Linked DNA regions of Homo sapiens: all the other regions are linked to region 1. Evidence: promoter capture Hi-C in human tissues and cell types (Jung and others, 2019). All regions are on one chromosome and are shown on one strand. Each heading gives the region's core, a stretch centred on a gene start or on the middle of the fragment in contact. The rest is flanking DNA. Distances are from core to core; before and after follow the strand shown. Region 1 holds the start of KCNS1 (potassium voltage-gated channel modifier subfamily S member 1). Region 2 has its middle 16 kb from the start of YWHAB. Region 3 overlaps YWHAB (tyrosine 3-monooxygenase/tryptophan 5-monooxygenase activation protein beta). Region 4 overlaps PABPC1L (poly(A) binding protein cytoplasmic 1 like). Region 5 holds the start of LOC124904912 (a long non-coding RNA gene).

What was found. Contacts are between HindIII fragments. The study calls those that stand out against the background at their distance.
Region 2: a contact is called between a fragment that was not itself captured here and the fragment with the promoter of KCNS1 in region 1, in 1 of the 25 tissues and cell types used here (spleen).
Region 3: a contact is called between a fragment that was not itself captured here and the fragment with the promoter of KCNS1 in region 1, in 3 of the 25 tissues and cell types used here (dorsolateral prefrontal cortex, lymphoblastoid cells and spleen).
Region 4: a fragment that was not itself captured here is called in contact with the fragment with the promoter of KCNS1 in region 1 in 1 of the 25 tissues and cell types used here (spleen).
Region 5: a fragment that was not itself captured here is called in contact with the fragment with the promoter of KCNS1 in region 1 in 4 of the 25 tissues and cell types used here (H1 embryonic stem cells, dorsolateral prefrontal cortex, lymphoblastoid cells and 1 more).

Annotation. Positions count from the first base shown.
Region 1 is chr20:45,098,969-45,103,316 of GRCh38, reverse strand. It overlaps KCNS1 (potassium voltage-gated channel modifier subfamily S member 1), which reads left to right and starts at 2,190. Exons shown (of 4, transcript NM_001322799.2): 1 at 2,190-2,396; 2 at 4,078-4,156. The coding sequence starts at 4,081. The HindIII fragment of the contact is 6,202 bases long and covers 516-4,348 here.
Region 2 is chr20:44,867,781-44,872,128 of GRCh38, reverse strand. No RefSeq gene overlaps it. Among named protein-coding and RNA genes, the nearest start is that of YWHAB, 16 kb to the left of the region's middle. The HindIII fragment of the contact is 3,967 bases long and covers 1-3,805 here.
Region 3 is chr20:44,888,723-44,893,070 of GRCh38, reverse strand. All of the region lies in intron 1 of YWHAB (tyrosine 3-monooxygenase/tryptophan 5-monooxygenase activation protein beta), which reads right to left. Among named protein-coding and RNA genes, the nearest start is that of YWHAB, 5.2 kb to the right of the region's middle. The HindIII fragment of the contact is 5,673 bases long and covers 1-4,348 here.
Region 4 is chr20:44,934,521-44,938,868 of GRCh38, reverse strand. It overlaps PABPC1L (poly(A) binding protein cytoplasmic 1 like), which reads right to left. Exons shown (of 15, transcript NM_001372179.1): 11 at 3,372-3,478; 12 at 2,139-2,232; 13 at 678-808; 14 at 121-195. The coding sequence ends at 127. Among named protein-coding and RNA genes, the nearest start is that of TOMM34, 24 kb to the left of the region's middle. The HindIII fragment of the contact is 3,369 bases long and covers 376-3,744 here.
Region 5 is chr20:44,953,725-44,958,072 of GRCh38, reverse strand. TOMM34 (translocase of outer mitochondrial membrane 34) reads left to right here. Exons shown (of 7, transcript NM_006809.5): 2 at 1,588-1,687; 3 at 2,853-3,005. It overlaps LOC124904912 (a long non-coding RNA gene), which reads right to left and starts at 2,857. Exons shown (of 2, transcript XR_007067599.1): 1 at 2,453-2,857. The HindIII fragment of the contact is 7,243 bases long and covers 1-4,348 here.

The DNA of each region.
Region 1 (4,348 bases), core at 941-3,440:
TATGGCAGAAGGGAGAGTGCCCTGGGTGGGCCTGGACTAATCAGGTGAGAGTTTTAAAGCCAGAGATTTTTCTCTGGCTGGTTACAGGAGAGGAATTCAGCACTCTGATGTCCCTGAAAGAAAGCAAGCATTCATGCTATGAACTGCCTATGGGGCAGCTTCTAGAATCTGAGATTGATCCCTCGGAGACAGCTAACAGGAAAAGAGAGACCTCAGTCCTATAACCACAAGGAAATGAATTCTGCCAACAATCTGTGAGCTTGGAAGAAAACTCTGAAGCTCACATGAGAACCTCAACCCTGGCCAACACCTTGGCTTCAACCTGGTGAGACCCTGAGGGTCCAGCCAGGCCATGCCCAGACTTCTGACCTACAGAAACCATGAGATCATAAATTTGTATTGTTTTAAGCTACTAAATTGTGGTAATTTGTTATGTAGCAATAAGAAAAATTAGTACTGGATTTTAGAGACTTAGTACAAAAAAAAGAAAATGTAAAATATCTCAATAATTTCTTTACTGATTCCAATGTTGAAATCATAATATTTTAGATTTAATAAAATATATCACTAAAAATACAGTTGATCCTGAAACAACACGAGTTTGAACTGCTAGTGTCCACTTACATGCAGATTTTTTTCCAATAAATACATTGGAAAATTTTTGGAGATTTGTGACAATTTGAAAAAACTTACAGATGAACCATGTAGACTAGAAATATCAAAAGCCTTAAGAATAAGTTAGATATGTCGTGAATGCCTAAGATATATGTAGATACTATTTATGTGTCAATCGACTGTTTATATTATTGGTAAGGTTTCTGGCGAACAGTAAGTTATTACTAGTTAAGTTTCAGGGGAGTCAAAAGTTATATTCTAATTTTCTAGGCATGGAGGAGTGGTTTCCCTAACCCCCACTGTTTAAGGGGTAACTGTAATTTCGCCTGTTTTTTACTTCTTTAAAATGTTGCAATCAGAAATGTAAAAGGACATATGTGGGCCGGACGCGGTGGCTCATGCCTGTAATCTCAGCATTTTGTGAGGCCAAGGCAGGTGGATCATTTGAGGCCAGGAGTTCAAGACCAGCCTGGCCAACATGGTGAAACCCCTTCTGTACTAAAAATACAAAAATTAGCTGGGCATGGTGGTGCATGCCTGTAATCCCAGCTACTCAGGAGGCTGAGGCAGGAGAATCGCTTGAACCCAGGAGGCGGAGGTTGCAGTGAGCCAAGATTGTGCCACTGCACTCCAGCCTGCAACAGAGTGAGTGAGACTCTATCTCAAAAAATCAAAAATAAAATAAAATAAAATTATATATGTGGCTCACATTATAGGTGTTGGACTGTGCTGGCCTAGAGGACTCAGAAGTCAGCCATGGGACCTCCGGCAAGTCACCACACCTCTCAAAGCAGTTCTTATCTGTGAGATAGGAATAATAGTAGCACTTACCCCACAGATAAATTTGCAGTTTGAGTGAGATTGAGGTCTGTGCTTGACCCAAGGTAAGTACTCAATAAACGTTGGTAATTATCATTATTATTAATAACAATATGTGCAAAGGCTCATATCCAGGCCCTAGTCTCCAGGAGCCTCTCCCCAACCAGGCACACAGCAGCCACACAACAGGTACATGTGTGGGGATTTCACAACCTCTACAAAGCTCTTTGGCACATGTTCTCTGCCCTCACAACCCACTTGGCAGGTGGGAATCAGGAACCCGTGGGCAGGTAAGGACACTGCGCCTCAGGGGTAAAATGATCGTTTCAAGCTTCACAACTCACCTAGGAAGAACCTGGGGCTCCAAGGGAGATGAGGCCACCTTCTACAGCTCCCTAACTCAGATGCCCACGGTCTGAGAAAATGACTGGAGCTCACCCCTAAAATGGGCGACATAAGATCCTGGCCCTGTCAAGTGTGTGTGCCAGGAATAACTGAGATCAATCACTTGCAGCAGCTGAAGTACCCTGGCACATACTAAACACTCAATTAAGTAAATCATGATTACTGTTGTTCCTTTGCCAGAGAAGCTTCTGCTGAAATCCCTCTCTACGGGGAATCCTCACGCCCTAAATGACCCCTCCTTCCCGGCCCGTAACTCCGGAGGATGCCCCTGCAGGTAGGCCCAGTCTCCAGACACCACCACCCCCCAGCCGAGTCAGGAATAGAAACCGCCGCCTCCGGCCGCCAGCGGCCTCACTCCCTCCTCCGGCAGCGATCGATGCGGCCTTCAGCCGCGGGGGACTAGGCAAGGAAGAAGGAAGGAGAGGGCAGCGGGGCCGCCTGCAGCAGGAGGCTCGGCGGGGCCGGCGGGGCAGAGGCGAGACCGAGTATAGCCAGCGGCTCCCAGCCTCGGTGGCTTTGGGACAGACACGCGAGGCGCCCGGGAGGTGCCACCACAGGTAAGGGGCCTCCTTTGGGGAGGGACGTGGCTCCGGGACGGTCCCGGGCAGCCAGAGTGGGAGGCGGGGCTGCCTGGGGCTCCTGGTGCTCTTACCCCCTCTAAGAGACCCCCCACCCCCCGCCAAGGAGGAAGCAGTGTGGGGTGGCCGCGCTTTGGAGACCCTGGCTGGTACAGTTTGCTCATCTGTAAAATGGGATTAGAAAACCTCCCTGGCAGGGTTGGTGTAGGGATTAAACCGAGTGAGGTGTGCATGGAGCCCAGAGGAGTGACTAGCAGATAGGAGGTGCTCAAAATAAGTGTGTGGAGAGAGAATGAAATAAAAAAACCTGGTCTCCAACCTTAGCTGTGCCATGGACTAGCTGGGTGATTTTGAACAAGTCACTTGGTCTTTCTTACTGATATTCAGGTTCTTGTCAGAAAATGTTTGTTGAATTAATTATCCTGTTTCATAGAGCAGGAAAGTGAGCTCCTGATGGATGAAGGGATTTGCCCAATATTATGCTTCTAATGGGTGATGGAACTGGATTAGAAATTTCATTTTTTGATGCCAAATGCAGGTGGAGATCCAAGTGGAGGTGGGAGCGGAGCTACATCACACGTTTATTGTGCATTGATTATGTGCCAGGGACCATGCTGCCGATAAACACCTTGCATCATTTAATTCTCTGAGCCTCTCCTGGAAAGTATGATGCTACCCGGTTCCACAGACAGGGAAACAAGCCCAGAGAGGGCGACGAATGCACTCAAGGACAGCAGCTAGTAAGTGGTAGACTCAGGTCTGACCACAGGGAAGTACACAGGATTAACATTTATTGAGCATCTACTGTTTTCCCAGGGCTTTGACATATACCACAATAATGATGCATCCAAAGCAACATTATCCCCATTCTAGAGGTAAAAGAGCTAAAGCCCAGAGTGGGAAGGAGACTGGCCTGAGGTCACACAAGTGATAGAGCTAAGGGTGGAACCCCAAATCCATTTAATGCCAAGCCCAGGTGCTTTACACACACTTAATCCCTAGTCTAGGCATTACTGAACCCACAGTGCAAATGAGATTGCCAGTGGTGAGGAGGTGTCACTAGCCCCCAATTCCAGCAGAGTCAGGAGTCAGTGGGTAGTGGAAGAACCTAAATCCTTCCTGAGTATCCACTAAGGCTGAGCACTTTCTATAATCTACCTTAATCCTCCAGTCATCCCTGGAGGTAGGTGCTATTATCTACGTTGTGCAGGAAATTGAGACCTGGAGGACAAATAGCTTCCTCAAGGCCCCAGGTGCGTCAGGGGTGGAGATAAACCCAGGTTTGCCTGACTCCAGAAGATAGTGACACCAGTGAATAATTTATTAAATTCCTTCTGTGAGCCAAGCCCAAGAAAGACACTAGGTCATTTAATCTTCATAACCACACTTTGAGGTGAATATTTTTATTTCCATTTCACAGAGGCTCAGAGAGGTGATGTTACTTGCCTAAGGTGACACAAGAGAGTCAAGATTCAAGGTCAGGTCTGGCTGACTCTACAGATGCTTTACATAATCTAAAGCAGGAGCTCTCAAACTTGACTATGTAGCCGAATCACTTTCCAATCTTGTTAGAACACAAAGTGCTAGACCCCACCCTTAGAGTTCCCGATTCAGTAAATCGATGGCAGGCTGAGAATTTGCATCTTTGACAAATTCCCAGGTGATGCTGATGCTGCTGGTCCGGGGAACACACTATGAGAACCTCCGGTCTAAAGTGGTGCTGCCAACACCCCTAGGAGGTAAGTGTTACTATCCTCATTTTGCAGAAGAAACAGGTTCAGAGGGCTGGCGGGCCCAAGATCCCACAGTAGACCTTTGGTGTAAATAAATCCAAGTTTGTCCTGGAAAAGGAGACATCCTATGTGAGCACCCACTAGGTGCCAGGACATCCTGCGATTCCATCGCTTTCATATCCTTCCAGGTAGATCTCA
Region 2 (4,348 bases), core at 573-3,072, 230 kb after region 1:
AAAGTTTTTGTTTCTTGTTTGTTTGCCAAGTTTTCTATATTCTGGTTGCTAATGATTGTTCTCTATTGCTGCTGTAACAAATTACTACAAATTTAGTAGCTTAAACAGAACCCACTTCTTATCTCACAATTCTGTAGGTAAGAAGACTGAGTATAGTGTGTGTCTGCTGGGATCCGCCACTTAGAGTCTCACAAAGCAAAAATTAAGTTGTCAGCTGGGCTGCATTCCTTTCTGGAGGTCATGGAGCTGAATCTACCTTCAAGCTCATGGAAGTTATTGCTCAGATTTCATTTCTTTCTTTCTTTCTTTCTTTTTTTTTTTTTTTTTGAGATGGAGTCTTGCTCTGTCGCCCAGGCTGGAGTGCAGTGCAGCGATCTCAGCTTACTGTAACCTCCGCCTCCTGGGCTCAAGTGATTCTCCTGCCTCAGCCTCCTGGGTAGATGGGACTACAGGCATGTGCCACCACACCCGGCTAATTTTTGTACTTTTAGTAGAGAAGGGGTTTTGCCACATTGCCCAGGCTGGTCTCGAACTCCCGAGGTCAGATAATCTGCCTGCCTTGGCCTCCCAAAGTGCTAGGATTACAGACGTGAGCCACCGCGCACGGCCCTTCATGTTGTTTTAAAATGTGACACCATCCCTCCAATGTCCTGTAAACTGGTAGTTCAATCTAGAGGCCTGATTAGATTTCAGTTCAGTTTTTGGCAATCATATTTTATAGACAGGACTTGTATTTTCTATGGCGTCATCTCAGGAGGCACATAACATCTAATTGTTCCTCAATGATCTCTCCCAATCTGAAAATATACTTTCTTCAGTTCTGGAATAATTTTCATGAATTATTTCTTTGAATATTTTCTTCCTTCCTCTCCCCATTTTCTATATCTTCACTTTCCAGAACTCTAATTTTTCAGGTGTTTGACCTCTTGAAATGGCTTTCTAATTTTACTGTTTTTTTTTCTTTTTCTTTCCAATTTTTCATCTTTTTGTCTTTGTGTCTCTTTTCTGAATATTATCTTCCAACCTGTACTAAGTCATGCCTCTGTGCAGGAGATAGGAACAGAAACCACTCTAGGTATTGTAGGCAGAAAGGGATTGACTATAGGGAATTAGGTGGTTACAAATTCATGAGAAGAGCAGGAGTTGCAGAAGTCCAGGAGGCTTTTGTTTCAAAGTCACCATAGATGTGATTGAGAGGCCAGAGGTGCTGCTGCTACTCTTGCTCTGGTCACTGTAACTATCTGACACACATGAAGCTGGGGACTAGGCAGTGGATCAGGGAGTCTAGCCACTTTGATTTTGCTCAAAAGTAAACTTCAAAGATAAAGAGGGCTGTTGTTTGGCTTGAATGAGAAGTTGAAATTGCAAGGCAGTCTATGATATTTCAAGGTCTTTGCTATACATGCAACCAATTTTGGCTTTTCATTTTAATGGAACAAGGGCTGAGATCCTAACTCAGAGAGGTCTATAGGTTTAATCAGAAATAGAGCTCCTCAGTGGCTCATGTCTGTAATCCCAGCGCTTTGGGAGGCCGAGGTGGGTGGATCATCTGAGGTCAGGAGTTTGAGATCAGCCTGTCCAACATGGTGAAACCCCGTCTCTACTAAAAATACAAAAATTAGCTGGGCATGGTGGCCAGCGCCTGTAATCCCAGCTAGTCAGGAGGCTGAGGCAGGAGAATGGCTTGAACCCGGGAGGCGGAGGTTGCAGTGAGCCGAGATTATGCCATTGCACTCCAGCCTGGGCAACAGAGCGAGACTCGGTCTAAAAAAAAAAGATATTTTTTGGCATTTAATTTTAAGTAGGGAAATACCTGCTGTATTCATTTTAAAATAATGTATATTTATTACATAGTAATGTGTGGATATATTTTTATTGTAAGAAAACTAAAATATTAAAGATTAAAAACTAAAATTCCCTATGATCGCCACCTCCCAATGCCATTTCTCCTCCCCAGAAGTAACCACATATCAGTTATATATAGCAACATGTATTATCAGTGATGGTAGGTTAGGTTATGCTACAATAACCTACAATAACAACATCCTCAAAGTCTCAGTGTCTTATATTAATAAAAGTTTATGTCTTTTGTTTGTTTGTTTTTTTGTTGAGACAGGGTCTCACTCTGTCTCCCAGGCTGTAGTGCAGTGGCATGATCATGGCTCACCGTAGCCTCGACCTCCTGGGCTCAGGTGATCCTCTCATCTCAGCCTCCCAAGTAGCTGGGACTACAGATGTGTGCCACAAGGCCCAGCTAATTTTTTGTGGTTTTTGTGGAGACAGGGTTTTACCATGTTGCTCAGGCTGGTCTCGAACTCCCCAGCTCAAGCAATCCATCTGCCTCAGCCTCCCAGAGTGCTGGGATTACAGGCGTGAGCCACTGCGCCCAGCCTAAAAATTTATATCTTAATTGCATGTTTGTGATGGGTTGAATTCAGCTGTATCTCTGGACACAGCTGGAAGAAGCAGCTGGAACATGCTGATCTCATGGAATAAGGAAAAGAGAGAATGGGGGAGCCTCTTAAAGCTTCTGCTTGGATGTCTCACATGTCACTTCCACTCAAATTCCCTTGGCCAAAGCAAATCATATGGCTATGCCTGACTTACGTGGGGTGGGGATGTAGAATCCTTCCATAGGGCAAGTCGGTAAAATTCCATCCTTTTATAGTGTATGTAAAACTCTAGAAATAGATATAATTTTTATATAGTTTATTAGGGTACTGAATCTTATTTCTTCATGCAAAAATATGTCTTAGAGGTCTTTCCATATTATACAAATAGATCCATCTCTTTTTAATTTAATTTTTTAATTTTTTTAACCCCAGGGCAGAAGGCACCATCTCCTTTTTATTTTATTTTTATTTTTATTTTTCAGATGGAATCTCACTCTATCGCCCAGGCTGGAGTGTAGTGGCATGATCTCGGCTCACTGCAACCTCCGACTCCTGGGTTCAAGTGATTCTCCTGCCTCAGCCTCCCAAGTAGCTGGGATTACAGGCGCCCACCACCACGCCTGGCTTTTTTTTTTTTGTATTTTTAGTAGACATGGGGTTTCATCATGTTGGCCAGGCTGGTTTCAAACACCTGACCTCAAGTGATCCCCCAGCCTTGGACTCCCAAAGGGTTAGGATTACAGGCGTGAGCCACTGTGCCTGGCCAATTCTTCCATTTCTTATTTGAGAATGTCAAAGAATGCATCTCCAATCAGCCAGTGGAATATTGCATTTTATTTATTTGTTAATGGCTTGCAACCCATAAAATAATCCATACATTATATCAACATGAATGACCCAAATGTATTGGTTATTGCAGCTGGATGGCATGCATAGCCTAGGTCACAGGTGGATGGAAGACAGACAAAACCATTTTTACTCTCTGAATTCCTCCTCCACTACCCCATCACTGATGTTGTCTCCCTCCCAGCCATCTCCCTTATTTGAGGAGCAATGCATGGGGAATAGGTAGTGGGCGCTGCAGTGCATACTGTGGTGTGCCACCCAGACCCCCATCCCCAGGATGGGGCATTTATTCCCCCAGCTGCTGGGAGCATTGGCTGCTGGCAGCTCTCAGCTGAGTCCCTATGACTGTTCGAGGTGGACATTCCAAGGTCCTGTCCTCTTGCCATCCCAGCTCTATATTCCCCATGGCATTAGCCAAGGCCTCTGCTGAGGTTGCACTGCAGTTTGACTTTTCCTTTCCACAGATGTAATCCCGACAGCACTCTGCAATAGACTTCCTGACTTCAAATCTCCATATTGGAGTCTGATTCCTCGGGACCTGACTCACAACAGCCCACCACAGGCTCTGAAGTCAGACAGAACTGGGTTTCAGTCTTATCCCAAACACCAACTAGATATGTAATCCTAGAGATGATAAGTCCACTATACACCTTGTATGCCTCGGGTTTTTAATATCAACTGAATGTTGATAGTTTCTTGGAAACTGCAACTTTAAGTGAAATGATGTATGATGAAACCATTTTTTCCCTCATAATCATAATGGAAGGACATTACTTGAGGACGTGCTGCACATCATTTTGCTTAAAGTCGCAGTTTCCAAGAACCCATCGAAGAAGTTAAGTGAGGACTTACTATATACACTTCTTGCAGTTACTGTGAGGATGAAATAACACATGTAAAACACTGAGCACAGTATCTGGTACGTACTAGGTGCTCAAAACAAGTGCTAGCATGTTAGTAGTACTATTACATTAAAATGATAATCTTGGTAGAGTAATTAGATGATCCAGGACAGAGGAGATGGAGAGATTTTGCTAAAATTCATTCTCTCTTTTCCCCTCCTTGCCTGCATTTCCAGTGCCCTCACGCCCCGCTGAAACAGAAATAGA
Region 3 (4,348 bases), core at 881-3,380, 210 kb after region 1:
TTAAATAAAGGCAGTGCAAAGACAGAAAGGGTTGAAAATGACAGCTGTGGCCTTTAGAAGCACTGGCTTTCAGCTATGTTTTGTTTTCAAGGCAAAGAACATGCTCGATTCGAAAATAATAAGCTTTGAATTTAATAATTTGTTAGAAATTTCAGATGAAGACTCCATTATTATATGTCAGGAATTACCCAAGCTCTATACATATAAAATATACGGTGGGGTCTGCTTTTAGCAAGCCTTACATACACATCTGAGCTTCTAAAGAGAAAGTAGGTGATTTTTCTACATTTCCACATTATAACTTACCTGAATCTGTTTTCTCAGTGTTAAAAAGAGACATTAATAGCTATCAAATAAGATAATGAACATAAAATGCCCATATAGTGCTGGTTAGAGTAAAGGCTCATAAGCCATTCTTATTTTTTATTCTTAAGCTACCTCACAAAAATGTAACACATATAATCCAATGTGTGTTGAAATAACTAACAAAATGAAAAACTACCAAATTTCTAAGAACTCTTTGGATTATTCATTGAGAGGAATTTAAAAGAAAGCAGTGTAGTCCTCCCCTCAGAGAGCTTAAACTCTAGTGGTAGAAACACAAGAAAAGAGCACATGTATATCTATTACACATCAATTAAAAAAAAAAACAGCACACGTTTAAGGGTTACAATGCCTCTCCTTAGAAAGCCAACCAGACAGAACTAGAGGAAATAGGTTTAAAGGTAGCTAGGTCGTGACTTAAAAAGAGATGTTATTAATAAAGTGCATGTATGTTTTTCTAGATGAGATAAAAATCAAAGGCCAAAGCAGATAAAGAAATGAGAATAAGGAAGAAAACTGACAAGAAAATCTGAAAAATCTAGGCTCGAATGTTTCAATGGGGTAAGGAACTGATCACATATTCTGAACAGCATTCACAGATGTACCATTCCAGATAGAGCATCCACAGCACTGTACAGCAGAAGTTTTAGTTCTGGAGTCTCTCTGCTGAAGAAAAATCAGATGCCAAGCTACTGCAGAAGGGACTGAGAAAGTCAGTGGGACCAGGTGGTTAGTGGGTGTTACCCAGAAAAAGTTAAACACTCCTGGCTCTCAGAGAAAACTACTCACTAAAAAACACCCACTATAAAACTGTCTGTGTGCCATTCTACATATAAAATTTAGAGTCCTGTAATAAATTTAATTCCATTCAAACATTTGCAGGTTCTTTGTTAGGAAACAAAACACAGCATATCTGTAATACAAAGTCATTAGCACTAAGTCCAGTGAACACTGAATTTGGAGAGAAACTGCATTTCTATTATTTCAAAATCCCTTCCCTCTTTCACATCAGCTGTTGCATATCATTGCTAATTATGTCCAATTAGCCATGATTAAACTTACTGAGGGTGTTAAGTGACAGGCGCAAGGTTACACATGTGACTTAATGGTAGATATGACAATAAATTGACTTCTTGGCTTAAGTAATCAATCCAAAAGACACTATGTTAATTCTGATCCATAAAGACAGCCCAATTGGTTGACCTTATGAATAATTTCTACAGTTTGGGGCCCACTGACATAATGAAGCCTATCAGTCTGATTTACCAGTACCGCACACCAAGTCCACAGGCTATGTGACCTCTGTGAATTTGTTTTCTCATCCATAATACAGGCAAATCTGGGCTGGGCGTGGTGGCTCACGCCTGTAATCCCAGCACTCTGGGAGGCCGAGGAGGGTGATCACTTGAGGTCAGGAGTTCAAGACCAGCCTGGCCAACATGGTGAAACCCCGTCTCTACTAAATATATAAAAAAATTAGCCGGGTATAGTGGCAGGCGCCTGTAATCCCAGCTAATTGGGAGGCTGAGGCAGCCTGAAGGCAGAGGCTGCAGTGAGCTGAGATCACGCCACTGCACTCCAGCCTAGGCGACAGAGCAAGACTCTGTGAAGAAAAAAAAAAACATAGGCAAATCTACTTACTAGGGTTCCTGTAAGGAGTAAACCTGTTTATGATATAAAACAGTAAGCACTCAAATAAATGGCAACCACAGTACATTCCACACAAAACTTAAAAAACCAATGGTCAGCCAGTGAAGGGAAACTTACTATGTACCTCATTTATTTTACACGTACTCTGCTTTCTTTAAAGACTTTTAAAAGAAAGGCACATAACAATTTCCCTATGCTTATTTCTAAAATGGCCCTTATCACAGTTTACTGCAATGCAAGTGTCTCTGCTGGCTCCCACACCGGATTGTGAGCTTAAAGTAGGAATCCAGCCAGGCGTGGTGGCTCACGCCTGTAATCCCAGCACTTTGGGAGGCCGAGGCAGGTGGATCGCAAGGTCAGGAGTTCAAGACCAGCCTGGCCAAGATGGCGAAACCCTGTCTCTACTAAAAATACAAAAATTAGCTGGGCGCAGTGGCAGGCGCCTGTAATCCCAGCTACTCAGGAGGCTGAGGCAGGAGAATTGCTTGAACCCGGGCTTCAGAGGTTGCAGTGAGCCAAGATCGTGCCACTGCACTCCAGCCTGGGTGACAGAGTGAGACTCCATCTCACAAAAAAAAAAAAAAAAAAAAAAAAAAGTAGGAATCCAGACTTGTATCTTTGGACACCCAATGTGGAGTACAAGGCCTAGCACACTGAGTGACTGCTTGATCAACTGATGCATTCTTAAAAAGTGAAAAAGCAATTATTTCCTACGTGGACAGAGGAAGGTAGCACACATCTGACCTATAAAATACAGACTGTTTTTATTGTCTTAGACTACTTTTTGAAAAAAGCCAGCCAGCTCTCATCAGGAGCAACACTATACATTTTGACTAATATTTTTCAGCTACCAATCATTGTATTTATAGATTCAAACTGACTTTCAACAAGCCTTTGGATTACTTTCTGTCCATCTCCTCCATTCAGAAGTCCAATCAGTTCGCTATACAAAAAGTTCACTATACAGAAACCCAAACCAGCTAACTCGTTTAGTAAATAACAAAAATATCCATCCATCATTTATGGCCTGCAAAGCACTCAGGGATTCCTAGAAACGCATTTGATCCTAAGTATCCTATGAGGCAGGTGACATTGTCCCGTTTTATAAATGCAAAGAGTTAACTCATTCAGGGTCACACAGCTATATATGGCAGATCTGGGATCTAAACCAACATTAATTTTAAAATTAATGCTCTTTCCTTTATGTAACCCTATCTCCTAAAGATCAATTATGAACTCCAATGCTCACTTAAGGAAAAGAGAGAATTGTCAACTTTTAAAAGAACTATACAAGGTTGTTACAGTGAAATTTTAAAACTGGCCTATTAAGCTAATGTTATCTAGCTTTAAAAATAAAAACAAAATCAAGGAGTTAAAAACAGCATAAAAACATGCCAAAGACTTACCAAAATGTCAAACAAATTTTAAAGGAAAGCTCTTAGCTGAGGGCAAATAATAATAATAGACAGGACTCATATCTACTTTATTGTAGCCTTCAATCTTCTTGTCCTGGTCAAGGCCATTCAGAAATAACCTCCTGTTGGTTCTTTTAGGGAAAACAATAAAATAAACTAACCAGTACGGGAAAAACTTACATAATAAAGAACTGGCCAGAATTTAAAAAAAAAAAAAAAGTTAACTAACCTACAATCTGCTAGGAATGACTTGAGGCCACTGATCATTTACATCTCATTACAAGTATCAGATACATATAACCACACCTCTATTAGAAAATCTTTTAGTTGAGAAAGCAGTAAGATGATTGGCCTTCAGCACACATATCATGAGACAGAAAGCACTTTTAGTCTGTTTCCTCAAGTATTCCCCTTAGAAAAATTCCCTCAGAATCCAGCTCCAACCGTTAGTTTCTCCATCATGCAATACAGATGACTGCTAAGATCATATTCACATAGAGATCAAAAGGATTCTAAAGCTTAAAGGTTGCTATTATGTAACCATAATTTCTTGCCCCTTAACTAGTGAATTGTCATCTTTCCCTAGAAAAATGTAGAAACAAGGAACTTAAAAGTATCTCTACAAGGAAATTTTAGTTCATTCTCTAAGGTACCAGCATTTAAAGGAAAACTCAGTTTGTTGACACCGAAAGAGCAGGTAGCACAACAGGATGTTTTAATTTAGAAGTTTCTCTCTATTTACGTAGATATATTTCCTCATTTCCTCCCTGCCAACAAAATGAGAAAAATCTGAACATCTACTGATGAAGTCGTAAGATAAACAAAAATTAATGGTCACAATCAAATTCTATTAGATGAAGAACCTAAAATTCTATGCCAAAGTAACTGATGACTTTCTCCCTAGTATGAAGCAAGTACTAGAAAAACTGGATTGTTCACAAGCTTGCTTCCTGATGCAT
Region 4 (4,348 bases), core at 811-3,310, 160 kb after region 1:
TTGGTGCTTCAGAGAAAGCCAGGAACACGGCGCAATTCTCAGTGTTTGTGAAAGTCAGTCCCTGCCTATTTCCTTACAGCTTCTCCCGGGCTCAGCTGCTTCTGTCACCATTCCACCCACCTGGTTTCAGTGCATGTACGCCTTCGGCTGCTCCATAGCCTGGTGTGCCTGCAGCACGGCCACTGCCTCGTCTATCTGTGAGACATGAGTGGCGGGGGGGCTTAGTGCAGCTATCTTAGCAGGTCACAGAAGAGCCTTGATCTCCCCCTCGCTCACCATCCTGGATACAGGATCCTCCTCCATCCACAGGGTTTCTGTGGAACCCTCCCATCCACCACTGCTTGCAAGATCCCATGGCCCTGTCTGTCACCTTTGACACAGAGGTACATTGCTGGACAGCTGGAAAAATCTTAACCCTTACACTGAGTCACAACACACTTCCTTGTACCAAAAGACCTACCTACAGAACAACACAGAATTAGTCTACGGAAGGGCTGAAGTAGCAAACCCTTACCTAAGGCCCCTTCCACTCTTAAGATTCAGCAGGCCTTCAGGTATTAGCAAGAAGAAACACTTTATCTGGCCAAACAGCTATCCACTGGCTCCACTAGGAGAGCCCTTGTCGTTAGCTCTCCTCCTGCCCCCTCGGGCTCCCTGCTGCCCAGGCTCCTGCTTACCTTGGCATGGAGGGATTCTGGAGACTCCAGCATGAGCAACAGCTCTGAGTTGTCAATCTCCAGCAGCATGCCCGTGATCTTGCCAGCCAGCTGGGTGTGGACATCATGGATAAGGGGGTAGAGACGCTCCCCTGTGTGGAACACCTTCTAATGGCTTGTGCACGGCCTAGCTCACACCCCAGCATCCCAGGGCTCGTATGGAGTGGAGCACTGAGGACATCTGGGTTCTTCTCCCAGAACTGCTCCTTCTAGGCTATGACATTTAACACTTGATCTTCTAACATCAGGTACTTTTAATGACTGGGCCTGGTATTGGTGGTCAGCCCATCTCAGCAATGTGTCCAGGGCCCAGCCAGGACTGGGTGCCTTAAGTGGGGGCGGAAAGGATCGTCCCATGAAGAAAGTGAAAATGTTTACAGAGAACTACTAACAAAGACTTCTACTTCCATTAAGCTCATTCAAAATGTTTCTGGGTGAGGCCAGGCATGGTGGCTCACACCTGTAATCACAGTACTTTGGGAGGCTGAGGTGGGTGGATCACCTGAGATCAGGAGTTTGAAACCAGCCTGGCCAACATGGTGAAACCCCATCTCTAATAAAAATACAAAACTTAGCTGGTCATGGTGGCATGTGCCTGTAAGCCCAGCTACTCAGAAGGCTGAGGCAGGAGAATCACTTGAACCCGGGAGGTGGAGGTTGCAGTGAGCCAAAATCGTGCCACTGCACTCCAGCCGGGGCAGCAGAGCAAGACTCCATCTCAGGGAAAAAAAAAAAAATTTCGGGGTGAGGGGAAGGGGTAATGTGGCAAAACCCTAAGTAAGCTGAGGAAACAATGGGGCAGTGGTAATGGGGGCCTTCAGTAAAGGGTCTGGAGGTCTCGGGGGCCATGCAGTAAAGAACCTGCCAACCAGGAACAAGCTTGTGTTCACTTAGTGGCATTTTTATCAGGGCCTGCCATGGACACTAGGGGTGAAGATGAATTGCACAAGGAATCCAGAATCTATGGGAAACATCATGTATTTACCAAACGCACAGATGCCCCACCTGCCCGCATTGAGCACTGGAAACTGGTGAACAGCAGCTTCCTCCCGTTCAGGAGAGGTGTGAGGAACTTTAACCCCCCACCTACAAGCCATTTCTCAGCAGAAACCCAAGACCATACCCCTACTCCTCCCTTTGTCCCCTGATCTCCCCACATCTGGACTGTCTCCCAACCTCAAAGTCACAGGACAGCAGCAGTGGAAGAAAGCTCAGGACCATCCAGTCTGACCAGCGTTTTAAGACAAGATAACAGGTGCCTAGAGAATAGAGCCAGCTTGGCCACGGTCACCCAGTAGGGGGGTCGGTGACAAAGCTGGAATTTGACCTCACGTTGGACCACCAGGTGAGGTGTTTCCCAGCAGGCTAGCCAGCTCGCAGCCCTCCTCTTCTTGCTCCACAGTAGGAGAACCAGCCACTCACCAATCATCTGCTTTTGCTCATGCAGGGGCGCCGCAGCCAGCATGGACGCGGTCAGGGGCTCCTGTCCTGGGATGTGCACAGCCGGCTCCTGGACCTGCATGGTGCCGGGGACACATCCCTTAATCACCATGGACAGGCATGTCCTCAAAATACTTACCCTGGCAAGTGAGCAGAAGGCCAGGGAGGCACTGGAGGAGGGGAACAGAGGGCAAGGTCTGGATGATCAGGTGGGGTGGAGAGTCCCCAACAAGGGCAAAGTGGATTAGAAGACAAAGTCATGCCTCTAGCTTAGACGTTTCCTGTAGTGCTACGAACTTATAAAGGTCCCTGATGAACGTTGATAAAGGAAAGCCCTGTGTTACCAATAACTTTGTGCCAAATAAAGCACTTTTTATCAAGTAGATTTATGGACATGTCCCCGGCACACCTCTCACCCTTTCACATCTTGGTAATTTTAAAACATTTTGGCCAGGTGTGGTGGCTCACACCTATAATCCTAGAACTTTGGAAGGCCAAAGTGGGAGGATCGCTTGAGGCCAGGAGTTTGAGATCAGCCTTGGCAACATAATGAGACCCCTGTCACTACAAAAAAATACACAAAATTAACCAGGCATGGTGTCACATGCCTGTACTTGGAGGCTGAGGTGGGAGGATCACTTGAGCCTAGGAGTTCAAGGCTGCAGTGAGCTATGATCACACCACTGCACTCTAACCTGGGTGCTGTCAAAAAAAAGACCCTGTCCAAAAAAAAAAATAGACATTTTTGCTGTTTAAAGACTGTTCTCATTCATTTTGCAGGAAATAGTTCAAAAGAGACACATTGAAATTCTACACAGGATATGATAATGCTGAATTTTAGGCCTTTTTTAGGGGAGGGAGATAAATACACAGTCTTTGATTACAGTAAGTATTTTCTGTTTTGAAGATTAAGTACATCCCTTCAATAATCAGCATATTCTTAGAATACCTTTCCTTGGTGTTCATCACAAATACTAAGGATATCCAAATTAATTTTGGTAATAACCGAAGCAAAACAAATTGTAAATAAAACGTAATGCTGGCCCTCTTTCCCCTTCTCGCAGTAAGGGTGATCTCTTATTGATTGTACACATTAATAAACGAAACTTTACAAGCCAAGAAAAGAAAAAAAGCCAAGGCCCAACACCTTAGCTAAGGTTCTGAGCCAGGCGGCCAGGAGCCCAGGCTAAGAGCAGGCAGCTGGGCTGGCCTTACCCGATAGGTGCTATGTGCTGCTGAGGAACATTTGCACGGCAGGAGCGGCCGGCCTGGTGTACAGCATCCTACCCCACTGGGTCCTGTGGTCTGAGTACCAATGTTGGCTGCAAAACAAAACAAAACAAAACAAAAAAAGCAGAGTTCAAATAGCTGCTATCCAAAAACAAAACAAAACAAAACAACACCAAAACAGAAAATAACAAGCGTTGACAAGAATGTAAAGAAATTAGAAGACTGTGCACTGTTGGTAGGAATGTAAAATGATGTAGCCACTACAGAAAAACAGTATAGGGCTTTCTCAAACAGTTAAACAGAATTACCATATCATCCATCAATTTTACCTCTGGGTATATACCCAAAAGAATTGAAAGCAGGGTTTCAAAGAGCTATTTGTACAAACATTTTCTTTCTTTTTTTTTTTTTTCCTGAGACAGAGTCTTGCTCTGTCACCCAGGCTATAGTGCAGTGGTGTTATCTCGGCTCACTGCAACCTCCCCCTCCTGGGTTCAATCAATTCTCTTGTCTCAGCCTACCAAGTAGCTGGGATTACAAGCACATGCCACCACGTCCGGCTAATTTTTGTATTTTTAGTAGAGACAGGGTTTCACCATGTTGGTCAGGCTGGTTTCGAACTCCTGACCTCATGATCCACCTGCCTCAGCCTCCCAAAGTGCTGGGATTACAGGCGTAAGCCATCACGCCCAGCCTGCACAACCATTTTCACAGCAGCATTATTCACAATACCCAAAGGGTAGAAAAGTGTCCATTGATAGATGAATGAATAAGTAAAAATGAGGTCTATACATACAATGGAATATTATTTAGCCTTAATAAGGAGATTCTGACACACGCCACAACATAGATACATCCTGAGACATGTAAAGTAAAAAAACTAGCCACAAAAAGACAAATACTCTATGATTCTACTTACATGAGGTACCAAGCAAGAACAGTCAAATTCACAGAGACAAAGT
Region 5 (4,348 bases), core at 1,339-3,838, 150 kb after region 1:
AATGTAGAACATGCTTGAAAATGTTACATACCAACTTCAGGATTGTACTGGCCTCTGTGAGTCTGGGGAGGGAGCACAGGGATAAGGATGGGGATGGCTGGAGTTTTAGCTTATCAAAAAAATTTTTAAGGGTTGGGTGCCATAGCTCATGCCTATAATCCCAACACTTTGGGAGGCCAAAGCGGGAGGATCACTTGAGGCTAGGCATTCAAGACCAACCTGGGCAACACAGTGGGACTCTGTCTCTACAAAAACTTTAAAAATTAACTGGGCTTGGGGGTACACACCTGTAGTCCTATCTGCTTGGTAGGCTGAGCTGGGAAGATCACTTGAGCCCAAGAGTTTGAGGCTGCAGTGAGCTATGATTGTGCTACTACACTTCAGCCTGGGCAACAGAGGGAGACGCTGTCTCTAAAAATTAAAAAAGTTGGGAACTAATATAACGTGCTAAATCTAGTGGTGGATTCTGAGATAATGGTCTTCTGTATGTTTCAAAATTTTCAAAAAGAGACCCTGTTTTCAATTCTTTTTAAAATAATGGCCGACACTAGTGGGTATGAAGTGGTTGAAAATTATCTTTAAAAATAAAGATCATTGTTGGTTGGGCACGGTGGCTCACGTCTGTAATCCCAGTACTTTGGGAGGCCGAGGCAGGCGGATTGCCTGAGGTCAGGAGTTCAAGACCAGCTTGGCCAACATAGTGAAACCCTGTCTCTACCAGGCGTGGTGGCGAGTGCCTGTAATCCCAGCTACTCAGGAGGCTGAGGCTGAGGCAGGAGAATTGCTTGAACCCAGGAGGTGGAGTTGCAGTGAGCGGAGATCGCTCCACTGCACTCCAGGCTGGGCAACAGAGCAGGACTCTGTCTCAAAAAAAAATACGTAAATAAAGATCATGGTGGCCACAGTGAAGGACTTGAGCCTCTGCGATTCCTGAGGGTAAGGACTGCCTTAGAAGAATGTCTAATAATTCTCCCCATGGGGTAGCTTAAGACTTTTTCCTGATTAAGTTCTCTGTACTCCCATCACACCCAGCTCAATTATCATTTCCCTGACAAAGTCCTCCCTGGCTTGACCAGGTAAAACTAGTCTCATGTCTTTCATGGGTGTTTTGTGCCCCTACAACTTTTGGTCAATCCATTTATCATACGTTTATCATCTTGTTCCCTCCCTCCCTCCCTTTCTTTTCTTTTTTTTTTTTTCTTTCTTTCTTGGATTTAAATGCTTTTTGTAATAAAATACACACCTATCCATCCATTTATCCACCCAAACCCAAGTAGTTACAGCATGGATTTCTTTGAGGCAGAAGCTAGCTATTTCTTGTTTATCTTTTGTCTGTTATCAAGTTCAGTGCTGGAATGAGTGAATGAGGAAATACTTGGTTCCCTTTGAATGGCAAAAAGCGCAGTGTCCTTCTGTCACATAAGAATGACAAACACGCCAGCCCAGCAGACCAACAAGCCTGAACAGGTTATAGTTATCTCTACTGCCTTAACACAAGGCCCAAAGAGCTCTGAGTTTGAAATGTATCCTAATGCCCTGAGGCACCCATTTTCCAAACTGATCATCTTCCCCACTCTATCTGGGCAGGTTCTTCAGACCCAGAAGAAGAAAGTGTTCTCTACTCCAACCGAGCAGCATGTCACTTGAAGGATGGAAACTGCAGAGACTGCATCAAAGATTGCACTTCGTAAGTGGCCAAGGGTAATTTTGGGATGCCTGAGGGTCTCAGAAGAGGAGGCTGGGTTAATCTGGCTTGTTTCTTCTTTGGAAGGATCCCATCAATTACATCTGGGACAGATATTAAGAAAGTGTCACTGAGTTTCACCAGGTCACTGAGAATGGGAGTCTTTATTTGGTCCTTATGGCCCGTGACTTGCATCTTTGGAGTCTTGGCTCTGCTGCCGAAAAAGGAGTGGGATGGGCAGTTAGAAGCAGGCCGTAAAGTCTTTGTGCAATTTGAAACCTGGGAATAAGGTGGAGTGGCAGACCAGTAACTGGCTTGCCCAGGTGCTTTTCTGGGATGGGAGTATGTGAGGGGAAGGGAGCGAAGGAAAGAAGGAGGAATAGAGGTTAATAGATTGTCTCAGAAGGAGAAAGGAAAAAAATGGTATTCATGAATGACCAGTTTTAGAGGACACTGAACAATGTTTCATATCTCTTTTTCTTCAAGCCAGTCTAATATTCTTTTATCATCATTAAACTCTCACATTTACCTGAAATGTGTTCTCAGATCTGATGTCCTCTGACATTGCTTTAGATTCCTGCCCTGGTGATAGCCAGGAGAGCAGGAGGGGTGTGAGCATACTCACAGAGCCTGTGCTGAATTAATTTGTGCCATGCCTTGTGCCAGATTTCCCTCTTTGAGTGTTCACAACCAATCTGTGGGGTACGGTTACCATGTGTCCCAGGCCAGAACTTGGTTGCTGAGGGTTGGGGCAGTAAAGTGATTTACCTGGGTCACATAGTTAGCAGCAGAGGTGGAATTCAGACACCACCCCATCTGACTCCAAAGCTTGTTTGTTATTCCCACTAGACCACAACTGTAAAAAAACATAGTAGCATGAAAGCCATGAGGCTTTTGTTCTTGATTTTGGGGGAACTGAAACTATGAAAATTGATGCATGTGCACACACATTTAACAAAATTCATGTTTCTCTGCCTTCTTTCTCCTCCTCACTTCAGTCTACGTTGAAAAATCCCTGTTCTGAGGTTTGGCGTTTTTAGCCATGTCTCTCGGCCAGAAATTACTTCCTGTACGCTGAGTGCTCCAGATAACCCTGCCTGGAAGAAACTGTAGGGAAACCCTGGTGGCTCAGCAGCCAGCCAGTTGACATTTTTGCCTCCTATTCTAGAGCACTGGCCTTGGTTCCCTTCAGCATTAAGCCCCTGCTGCGGCGAGCATCTGCTTATGAGGCTCTGGAGAAGTACCCTATGGCCTATGTTGACTATAAGACTGTGCTGCAGATTGATGATAATGTGACGTCAGCCGTAGAAGGCATCAACAGGTGAGCTCCATTCCCAGCAGGTGGTCTCCACGGCAACTCCCTGTCCTTCTTGATTGGCTGCGGGCCATTGCCTTGTCTGTCTTCTGAGGGGATCCCTTTGGCTACACTTAAAAAACTCCCGATGGGCATGTAGGGGAAGCTGAGAAAGGAAAATCTGCTTTTTTATTTAGCAGGTTTTCAGGGAGTCAATTACTAAGATTGATTGATTGATATTTGCCTACATGTGCCTCACAGTATCTATGTACACAGTAATATTTATTGTACACTGTTTAAGGTGTTGTGCCCGGTTCAGTGGGGGATACCAAAATGAGAAAGAGATACAGACCCCACTTACCTTCAAAGCGCTAACGCTAATTAGAAGAATAAGACACAAGCCCAAGCAGCTATGACAAGCCTAAAAGGATATGGTTTGTGGACATGGTTCAGTATATTGCACTGTGACCAATCCAAGAGGTTCCCCAGGTGCAATTCCTTTCTGGTCTCTGAGCAGTTATTGGCTTTTATCTCATGGATATTGTCATTTGTATAACTGATCATGTTTCCCCTCTGCGTGTGCGGCTAGAAAGCCAAACACTGCACTAATAGCAAACCCTTAACAGGGACTTCATGGTATGTATTTAGTGCTTTATTTCTGGCTTGACTTGTCTGCCAGCATTCTTTGTTTTCTCTTTGCCTCCTTTTTAACTTATCTGATTCCACAAAATCTACCAATTATGTGACAGACTTTGCTCTAGGACCTGGGCTGATGACTGAGACATACCTCTTCCTGCCGTCATAGAGGTCCCGGTCTCAAGGAAGACACCAGTCAGTAATAGGCAAGCACAATACAACATGATAAGCGCCATGGTAGGAGGCAGCACAGGGGGCTCTGAGGCCAGAAAGGAGCCACCTAGCTAGCTGAGAGGGAGAGGGGGAGGCCAGAGAGAGCTTTTCAGAGGAGGTGAGCTAAGAATGAGAGATATGGGGTAGGGGGTTAGCCAGAAGACAGAGCAGCGTGTGCAAAGGTGAGCAAGTGTGACAGATCACAGGAATTGTAAGAAGTCGGTTTCACATGGTGCTGCAGGCAGGAGCTCAGCTTGGGACAGGTTGGTGAGGCCAAGTCACACAAGACCCAGGGTTCAGGGCTTGGACTTAATCCTGAGCAAGTCAGCCTTTATGAAAAGGTCTTTAGCAGTGGAGCAACATGAGCAGATTTGTATTTTAGAGAAAAGCTCTTTGCTGCCATGTTGAGGGATGATATGAAGGGCAACAGAATAGAAAGGAGTCATGCAGCAATCCAGGGGAGAGGGTGGAGAGAAAACAATGGGACCAGTCAGGGGACATGTAGGAAGTATATCAACAAG